Regions from separate parts of the Homo sapiens genome. Here region 1 is linked to region 2. Evidence: promoter capture Hi-C in 16 types of primary human blood cells and fetal thymus (Javierre and others, 2016). All regions are on one chromosome and are shown on one strand. Each heading gives the region's core, a stretch centred on a gene start or on the middle of the fragment in contact. The rest is flanking DNA. Distances are from core to core; before and after follow the strand shown. Region 1 overlaps ZNF185 (zinc finger protein 185 with LIM domain). Region 2 holds the start of HAUS7 (HAUS augmin like complex subunit 7).

Evidence for each region. Contacts are between HindIII fragments. The CHiCAGO score rates a contact against its expected background, and 5 or more counts as called.
Region 1: a fragment that was not itself captured here is called in contact with the fragment with the promoter of HAUS7 in region 2 in 4 of 17 cell types (M1 macrophages, M0 macrophages, monocytes and 1 more); the score reaches 8.1 in M1 macrophages.

What each region holds. Positions count from the first base shown.
Region 1 is chrX:152,947,816-152,952,583 of GRCh38, reverse strand. All of the region lies in intron 18 of ZNF185 (zinc finger protein 185 with LIM domain), which reads right to left. Among named protein-coding and RNA genes, the nearest start is that of PNMA5, 44 kb to the left of the region's middle. The HindIII fragment of the contact is 1,593 bases long and covers 2,407-3,999 here.
Region 2 is chrX:153,467,670-153,472,685 of GRCh38, reverse strand. It overlaps HAUS7 (HAUS augmin like complex subunit 7), which reads left to right and starts at 2,110. Exons shown (of 10, transcript NM_001385482.1): 1 at 2,110-2,236; 2 at 3,425-3,540. The coding sequence starts at 2,129. RefSeq lists enhancers at 1,581-1,875, 2,389-2,488, 2,639-2,818 and a silencer at 1,749-2,058. The HindIII fragment of the contact is 16,714 bases long and covers 106-5,016 here.

The sequences.
Region 1 (4,768 bases), core at 1,954-4,453, 520 kb after region 2:
GCCTATAGCCAGTAGAGCTTCAGGCCCCCTGCACCCATTGAGGGCTCGCCATTAGATCTCTATTTGTGTCTGTCTGTATGTTTAGTATACATGTATGTTGTATATGTGTAATAGTTCAGTACCTCCAGATGGCATTACCAAATTAATTTACAAAATCCCTTATCCTCTATTCTAATTGACTTAGAGATAAATAAGTACTTATATAAATTATTATAAAGCTCTCATAAATTAAGGAAACAACTTCTAATACTTTCAGTGTAAACAACAAAAAAGTATTCTTATAAAAACTAACCCAAATGCTTTTAAAACTCAAGTTCACAGAATTTATGTAAACTTTTGGCAAACAAAACTAGTTTAATATTGTTAGTTTAATAGACACCTATGTGTCTTTGAGTTATCAGCATTACATATAATACAACAGAATACAAGCATATATTTTTACTCTACTTGGGTATGTTCCTCCTAAACTTAAACAGGTTTACATGTTGAATAAGCTAGTATTATATCTACTACATGTTTAAGATTATAAAAATTTAAATTTGCTTTTAACCAAACTGAGTCATTATTCTGGCAAACTTTATTTCAACAGTAATTATGTTTTATAATATGTAAGCTTAAAGGCAGTTTCTAAAATCTTTTTGGTAACTTAAAACCTTAGACTTATGCTGAATTAAGTTAACTAAATTCATTAAATATCATTTATAAAGAAGATAAAATACTTAGTCACTAGACCTAAATTTAAGTTTATATACTTTTTGCTTTTTTTATGGTACAGTGTGACTACATATGGATCTGTTAAATGTGTTCATTTGTCCACATTGCAAAATGGTACTATAAAAAGTATATAACAACTATAAAAAGTTATGAGATGTATATTCATAAGCTTTACTAGTCTGCTACAAAATGCTGGTATATGATATTTCAAAATTACCTACCTCCTGTTTTCTCTGTGAAAGAGAAGTTATTAATGGTTAAAATTATAATAAGTAAATAAGTGTGTGTGTATATATATATATAAACTGCTAAAAGTAATAATGGCAAAAATGGCAAAGGGAAACAACTTTGTATGCAAATATGCTTTTCCTAAGGAAAAAGAGAATAGCTTTGTCCCAAATTAAAATGACAAATAATTTAAAAATGTGTGAGACAAAATGTAAACAAATATCTTTAAAATTAGAAAATGTTCACAGAAAAGGAATTTTATTTGTCATGGTTAAAACTTTTATTCAGTGTATTTATAAGATTTTCAAAAAAGAACTAATATCAAATATTATACTTGTATAAAATTAAAATGTTGGTTTCTCTGTTAAAATAACAAAATTTTCTTAGGCTAGGTGCAGTGGCTCACGCCTGTAATCCCAGCACTTTGGGAGGCTGAGGTGGGCAGTTCACCTGAGGTCAGGAGTTCGAGACCAGCCTGGCCAACATGGTGATCGCGCGACTGCACTCCAGCCTGGGCAACAGAGCAAGACTCCATCTCAAAAAAAAAAAAAAAAAATTCTTGATCATTGGTCTGTCCCTAATAAAAAGTTATAAATGGTCTGTTTTTCTTCTGAGTCATCTGCCTAAGAGGCAAAGATTTTATGTCTTATCAAAATACTGTAATGCCCTATCTGTATGTTCAGTTTATTATGTCCTTAGTTATTTTTTTAAAGTCTTTTCAATTTTAAAGGAACTGAAGATTCTTTACAACCATGTTACCTCATATGTTTACTTGAAAATTTTTACAACTCTGATTCACTAGCTAACCAAGTAGTATTTCTCGCTAACCCATAATGCTATTCAATCAAATGTTCGAGAACTCCTGACAACTCTTAACATTTGCCTTCCCACAATCAAAACTTAAATATATTTTATACCTAAAACTGGCTTTGGGATTTGCCAGGGACCTTCTGGAAAATCTCAAAGGATTAGTTCTTTCACCTTGTAACAAGAAAGGTGCAAAAACTAATTAGTCTTATTTAATATTGTATAAATTGCATTGGAAACATTGTCAAATCAAAAAAAAAATGCAGAACCTTCCCTAAATTAGTCTATAATGGGTAAAATGTCCTTAATATAAATATTTTAGAAATTCCATAGAATTCCTAGCGGGGTTTCAGTGTCCTCAGTGTACATGAGATATTGCTCTTTATCAAAGCCCCAGTGCTGCTTTGCCTTATATTAGATAAGAACAATACAAGGTTATCAATCATCATTTCAATTATGGGAAATTCACATTGCTCACTGATGGAATATTGTTAATATACAGATGTTTAGGACCTTTCCTGAACTGCCAATTTGATTTTATTCTGCACCCAAATCTCATGGTTATAAATATGTTCTTACTAGTTTATTTATGTTTTTCTCACTGGCTTGAAGCTTTCCCTTATATAAAAGGATCATTGCCACTAATGTTATTAAGCTTTTGTTAGAACAAGTATTCCCCACATGTGGAATTCTACCGCTTCTTTCAAATGACTAAGGAATCCATTTCCCCAGTAAAGTCATCCAAGAAATATAATGAGTTCTTCCTTTATCCCCCAAATTACATTGTCCTTATCATCCCCAGTCGTCTGAAATGATGGAAACAGTGGAGTATTAAAGTGAAAACTTGCCAACTGATGAAAAACTCAATCTCCCATGGCCTAAGGTTTTACCCTTAGCACTGACTGTCCTCTGGTCCTCTCGTGCTGGGTCATACGTACTCTCCCTCCATATGATATAATAACTGGCCCACCCATGAGATCTCCCTAGTGTCTAGACTCTCAAAGATTCTAATCTGGTCAATTCAGACATTTAAAAATAATGACAAGGATTTTTTTTAATTTTTCCATCTACTCTCCCTCGAAGTTCTGCTACTATCGTTGCCTACATCTCTGAAGGCTCTCACTCTGCCTGTCTCTGCCCTTCTTGGAACTCCAGGCTAGTTATCCACTAGGAGAGCACATCTAGTGGCTTTCTTCCTGGCGTGTGCCCAGACTAGGGCTGAGGGAATGCTTGCTACTTAGAACTATTAGCAGTAAGCAGCCCTTAAGCCCCTGGCCCACAGACTCTAAATGCTGCCCATCAGGTGCCATGACATAGTTGACCCTTCCTGATGAACCTAGCCTACTGAGATGCCATGCCAGTGACCAGACCCAAAGACTGCAAATAGAGAACCCCAGGGGGCCCGGAAAGGGGATTTGTCTACAGTCGCACCCCAGCATGCTACAGGATTTAGACCACTAAGAGGAACAGGAGAAGAGCACTTGCAGAGTGCTGCTGTCTGCCTCAGCAAAACAGCAGTGTGCCAGGGCAATCCAGCCAGGCCAGCCTAGGTAGGGCCTCCACCTGAAAGCCAGAGGCTTGCCTCAGGTGCCCTTGTCAGCTTGGGATCTCCACGGACCAGGCATTTGCTCAGTCAGTTGCAGGCAGTATAGAGGCAGGTTAGAGATACTTTGGCCACCACCTAAGCCAGGAGGGGTCACATACTCCACTCACTCGACCAGAAATGTGGCTTTCTAAATTGTCACTTCCCTCTCCGTCACTGCTCTCCCAAGTCTTACCTGTCATCCAATTTGGGATCTCTTCTACTTATTTTACAGTTCTGTCTCCATCTCCACAGCTAGTCCCCTAGTCCAGGCCCCATCATTTCTTACATGGAGGATGCTGTAAGCACTTCCTCTTCTCCCTGCTCCACTCTGCCCACTTCAGTCACTCTTCTCACTGCCACTGGAGATCCCATTGCAAAGCAATACTCTCGCCATATCACTCCCCTGCTTCAAACCTTCCTGGCTCCTCTTTGCCCTCGAAAGAAAATCTAAAGTCCTTGTTATGGCATAAAGTTCTGATCCTGCCCATCTGTGTCAGGGGTCCCCAAGACCATCCCTAGGCTTGGTGATTCACAAGAAGAACTCACAGGACACATCACATCATCACACTCAAGGCTATGGTTTATTATAGTGAAAAGATACGAAGCAAAATCAGCAAAGGGAAAAGCACACAAGGCAAATTTCTGAGGGAACCCGGGCACAAGCTTCCAGAGTCCTCTCCCAGTGGGTCACACAGGATTCACTCAGTTCCCCTCAGCAGTGAGTTGTGACAACAAGTGTGAAATGCTGTCGACCAGGGCAATTCATGAGAGACTCAGAGTCCAAGGATTTTATCGGGGACTGGTCACGTAGGCACCCTCTGCCCAGCCTTTACCTAACATGCACACGTTGCTTTCACCTATAGGAAACCTTCCCCATTATCTTGTAGCTGTAATTATCTGCTCACCCCTCCCACATCCATCACGTCACAGCCAGTTTCAGAGTGTGTACCCCATCAACTGCACCTGCTTATCCTCCGCTCCCTCCTCAATCCATTATAATCCAACTACAGCCTTTCCCACTGCCCCAACCTACTCCCCTCAAGGCAGTCATGAGTTCTACATAGCCAAATCTGATGGGCCTATTTCAGCATCTACAGAGCACTGGAAAGTTAGCTCAGCGTGGCTTGGTTTCCATGACGGTAGTCTTTCCTGATTCTTCCATTTATCCAAAATTTTCCTTCTCAATACCTCTCTGTAGCTCCTCTTCCTCCTTAAGACCTTTTGGAATTATTTTCCAAAATTATGGTCCATCTGCCTTTGCTTCTCTCATATTTTTACTTCTTTTCATTTTATATATTCAGCTAGGGTTTTAGGGGATCAATAATTAATATCCCCTCTTTTTTTCTTTTTGAGACAAAAGAAGAGCAGAAAATGGAGAGAAATGTCAGCTGATGAAGCAGCTTCCCTCAGCATCCCTGAACCACGTGGACTCAC
Region 2 (5,016 bases), core at 861-3,360:
GACCGGGAGCTCCCTTCCTCTCCTGGCAGCCAGCTGGTGTTCAGACAGTGATTTCTGGGAGGAGTGCTTTCTTGGACTGAGCTTGAGTCCACATTTCCAGAAGCTTCTACCTCTGGGCCCCTTCTTTCCCCCTTCCTGAGAGGCCCAGCAGCCTCTCTGTTCCCTCCCCAGCCTCCAGCTTTTCCGGAGGAAGATGCCTGGGAGGTGCTATGATTCTGGGGGCGGGTGGTGGGTGGCAGGTGGTGGGTGGTGGGTGGTGGGTGGTGGGGTGGCGTGGGCAGGGAAGCTGCAGCCTGCTGCTGGGTCTTCAGCGACCATCTCCAGGGGCTGAGGGCTGGCCAACAGGTTCTCCATGAGGGGGATGGCCTCCATAACCTCTCAAGATGATCTTCGCCTCTCAAGGCCCTGCCAGTTCCTCAGGGTCCCATAGACTGAACTGCTGAGGTTGGGGAGGCCTGTTGAGCACACTGGCTCCGTGGAGCTGGGTGGAGGAGGGAGATTTTCTTCCAGAGTACACAGGAGCTGGTTTCTTCCCGGTCCTCAGGAGCAGAGAATATGGGGAGGGTTGGGGGAGGCTGCCACACTGCCGTGGTTTCTTCCGCCAAATTCCCCAGTCCTAGGAAAGATCCACAGAAAAACCCACAAGAATTTGAATGTCTGAGCTGGGGCTGTGATTGAGATGAAATTTTCTAAAAAGAAAGAAAGAAAAACAAAAACAAAAAAGAGGGAAAAAAACGCTTAAAAAAAAATCCCAAAGCCTTTGACAGCCCTCAGCTACCAGAAGGGCCTGAGGCAGCAGCCACGTGGAAGGGTAGAGAGCAACCTTGAGGCACTTCGCTGGGCCTGTGTCGGGGCCTCCCAGGCTGAGGTCCCTTCCTGTGACCCCCGGACTCCTGCCCGCTCCCTCCTCCCAGGACGGAGTGAAGTCCCCTCCTGTCACTTGGATGACTGCAGTTGCCTCCCAGCAGGTCCCTGGGTCTCCCTGACTATAGACTTGCCCCCTGATCCCACCCTCCAGGAGATGGCAGGGTAGGGCACAGAGGAGGGCACAGTGGCAGCTGCCTGCTGCTGTCTCCTGGCTACTGGGCACAAGCCACCCTCCAACTCCTTCCTGCCTTGCCCAATCAGCAGGTCCCTGGGTAAGGGGCATTCAGTGAACTGGGGGCTTTGCAGGTCTGGGGGAGGAGCGACTGACATATTTCATTGCAGACGCATTGAGTTTGAGGGTCCTGAGGGATGTAGAAAAATTTGTTAAGTAGACAGGATAGGAAGGAGCCACAGGTAGCCCCAGGAGCCGTGAGGGGAGCAGGGCCCAGCATGTATTACAATAGTGAGCATTTACGTGGTTCTTCGCATGCGCCGGGCACTGTTCTAGGGATTCCACAGGAATTATTACCGCCTGCCATCCTCATTAGCAACCCAGTGGGTAAGGTGCTCTCATTAGCTCCATTAGGTGAGGGCAAAGAGGCACAGAGAGGTTAGGTAACTGGTTCAAAGGCACACAGCTGGTGAGTGACAAGAAATTTCCTTCTAACTACAGCGTGAGCATGGTGAAGAGAAGACGGAGCCCCGCGCTGGGAGAGGAACGCTTCAGTCCGAGTTCCATTCTGCACCCAAGGCTCCCCTTGGTCCTCCTGGGAACCAGGGTGCCCCTTAGTGGTGGTGGCCCAGGAGAACCCGACCAAGGCAGGAGCGCCCCCTCCTGGAAGAGCCTCGCTTCAACGCATCATCATTCCCGGCCGGCAGCAGGGGCGACGCCAGCAAGGCCTGCGACTCAGAGCCAGCTTGGCCCGTTCGCCCCGCCCCTTCCCGGTGTCCGCCCCGCCCCTTTCCCGGTGTCCGCCCCGCCTCCTTCCCGGTGTCCGCCCCGCCCCCTTCCCTGTGTCCGCCCCGCCCCCTTCCCTGTGTCCGCCCTGCCCGCTTCACTGTGGTCCTGCCTCTGGGTGGTGCCGGGGCGGGGGGTGGGAGCCCGGGGCCCGCGCAGGCGGAGATGTCGCCCAATGGGAAGGGTCGGTCGGGAAGGGGGTGGGCGCAGGCGGGTGGGCGGGAAGAACGCTGGAGGTTGATTGGCGGTCTTGCCGGCCAGTGAAGCCAGGGCATGGGCGGGGCGCGGCTCGGAGCGCGAAACATGGCGGGGCAGGACGCTGGCTGCGGCCGTGGCGGCGACGACTACTCAGAGGACGAGGGCGACAGCAGCGTGTCCAGGGCGGCTGTGGAGGTGTTCGGGAAGCTGAAGGTGCTGTTGGCCCAGAAAGCCACTCCAGGGCGGGGGACCGGGGAGGGCCCCGCCCGAGGCCCGGGAGGGCTTGCTGCGGAAGTCCGCGGCGCCACGCGGCCACCGTCGCCGGTTCCGGCTGCGCCCTGTTCCCTTGCAGCAGGGGGTGCTTGTGGATCATTCATCTTTGCCCTTTGGTGTGCCCCAGGCCTTCGTTCTTGCTGTCTCCACGGCCCGTGCCTGGTAGTTGGGGCCAGCACCGCCTGTGGAACTGCAGTACCCGCGCTGGGCGCTCGGAGCAAGTGCAGACACAGAGGACCCAGGCCTGGCCTTAGGGATCTTGCGGGGTCTGGGGGGACAGATGGGCAGAGCCTCGTGCCACTCTGTCAAGTCAGCGAGACTAGGGCTTGGTGTCAGTTGGTGTCAGATGCCAGGGGTGATAGCCTCCAGAAGCCCTCTACAGCCCCACAGGACAGAGCCCTCACTGCAGCAGTGAGGAAAGCTGGCCCACGAGGTTAGGGAGCTGTCCCAGGTCCCCTCGGCCCGCTCGCTCCTCCCCCCAGACACTCCCCCATCCTGTCCGCGACTGGCTCAGTGGTCCCTCTCCCTTTCCCTCTCCCCTTTCCCTCAGTCCCGAAACCTAGGACTCTCTCTTAAGTCTTAGTCTCAGGCGTTGCTCCTAGGTCCTGCTGCCACAAGAGCCCAGAGTGGGAGTACTTGAAAGAGGTGGGGTCTGCATGCCGCGGGAGATGTGGGGTTAAGAATGGGGGGACTTGAACTCTTGGCAAGATGGCAGGACGCGGGTAAAGGAAAGGGTCCTGGGAGCTTGCAGATGTACACTGAGGACTGGGCGCGGCGGCCCACGCCTGTAATCCCACCACTTTGGGAGGCTGAGGTGGGCAGATACCTGAGGTCAGGAGTTTGACACCAGCCTGGCCAACATGGTGAAACTCCGTCTCTATTAAAAATACAAAAATTGTCCGGGCGTGGTGGCGCATGCCTGTAATCCCCCAGCTACCCTGGGAGCTGAGGCAGGAGAATTGCTGGAACCCAGGAGGTGGAGGCTGCAGTGAGCCGAGATCATGCCACTGCACTCCATCCAGGCTGGGCGACAGAGTGAGACTCCGTCTCAAAAATAAATAAATAAATAAAATGAAATGATGTACACTGGGACTTTCAGTGAATGTTGCTTTCCTTTTCCTTGCTTAGGACCTAAACTGCCCCTTCCTCGAGGGTCTGTATATCACAGAGCCAAAGACAATTCAGGAACTGCTGTGCAGCCCCTCAGAGTACCGCTTGGAGATCCTAGAGTGGATGTGTACCCGGTAATGCATCAGTTTCTTCCTCTTCCCACCTGGGGTGTGCATGGGCGCCAGCCAGCCCCACCTGGGGAAGATGGGGTTTGTGGTTACTGTGAGTAGCTGTCTTCCCAGAGGGCTCCACCCCCTAGCCTGGACCCTCGTGAGAACAGCTGTGTAGGTAAGGAGTACTGGTGACAGGCATGATCAAACTTGGGGCAAAGTGGCCCCTGGCGGTGCTGGGCTAGTCCAGCCACCCCTTTGCTGCAGTGCTGAACTTGCCCTCAGCGTTTGCCTTGCCTTATGAGTTTGGAGGTTCAGGACTGGCAGGCACCTGAGAAATGCTCCATTCCAGTCCTTTCCTTCTCAGACCCGGAAGCCAAGGGTCAGGCTGGAGGCATGAACAGTCTCTGGTCTCCCAGTGGAGGAGTGACAGGCAGGGCCAGGGCGTGGGCTCCTGGCTGGGTCTCAGCTGGCCAAGTGGTCCTCATGCAGTGTCACCTCTTGTCAGCTTCTGTGCCGTGACCCGTTTCCCAGTCCTCTGGTGCCTTTGGGCCAGGGTGTAGCATGGTGTGTGCCTGGCACCCTATGAAGCCCATGGTGACAGGGTGACTTCCTGAGTGATGGTGGAGGAAATGATCCAGAGTGTCCCATTCCCAGGGCAGACATCCTTCCCCTGGTGACGTAGTCCCTGAGCTGAGGGTCTGTCTCACTGCCTCACAGCTGTGAGTGGAGAAGGCTTTCCCCGCCTCCCACAGAGCACAGGCTCCTGTGGGATTGGGTGTGTGCCCAGGCCATGCTCAGGAACAGCTGTAGTCTGTTGGTACAGGAGCCTCTCGTGAGTCCAGGCCCGGGCCTCCCCCTCCTCAGCCTGCGGCCTGCCTACCCTTGCTGCTTGAGGAAGGGGCCTGGGCGGGAGCCTGGCAGTAGAGCAGTGGGGAGCCAACCTGCATCCAGCCGGTCTGGCCCGCCAGGACCAGAGACATCAGCAGGACGCCCAGCTGGATACAGGCCCCCAGAGGAAGGAGGAGGCGTTTTTGTGTTTGAGCCCTTGCTGTTCCAGAGGCGTCTCCTGCCTCTGCCTTCTAGGCCCTTCCTCAGGCCTCTCCCCAGGGCTCAGCACAGCAGCTCCTCGCTTCATAACCTTTTGCTCTTGCTCACATTGTTCCCCCTCCTGGAAATGGCCTTCTAGTCTCTGCATGTCGTACGTCCTCCTGTACAGCCCGCAAAGACCCAACTCACACGTCCTGTCTCCTTTTAAAATGTTTCCTGTTCCCAGGGCAGAATGTATTCCGCTTCCCTCTGGATGCCCACAGCCTTTGAGCACACCCTGCCCCTGCTGGAGCCCTCAACCTGTGGGTGCACTCTTGGCCTGCTGTCATTTCCGGCTCTTTAGTATGGGAGCCGCAGCATGGTGTGGCCGTGCAGTCGGGGGGTTCTCCAGGCTGCACCTGTGTGCCATTCCACGCGCTGCAGACGTGACTGGGTGTCCTCAGGAGCTGG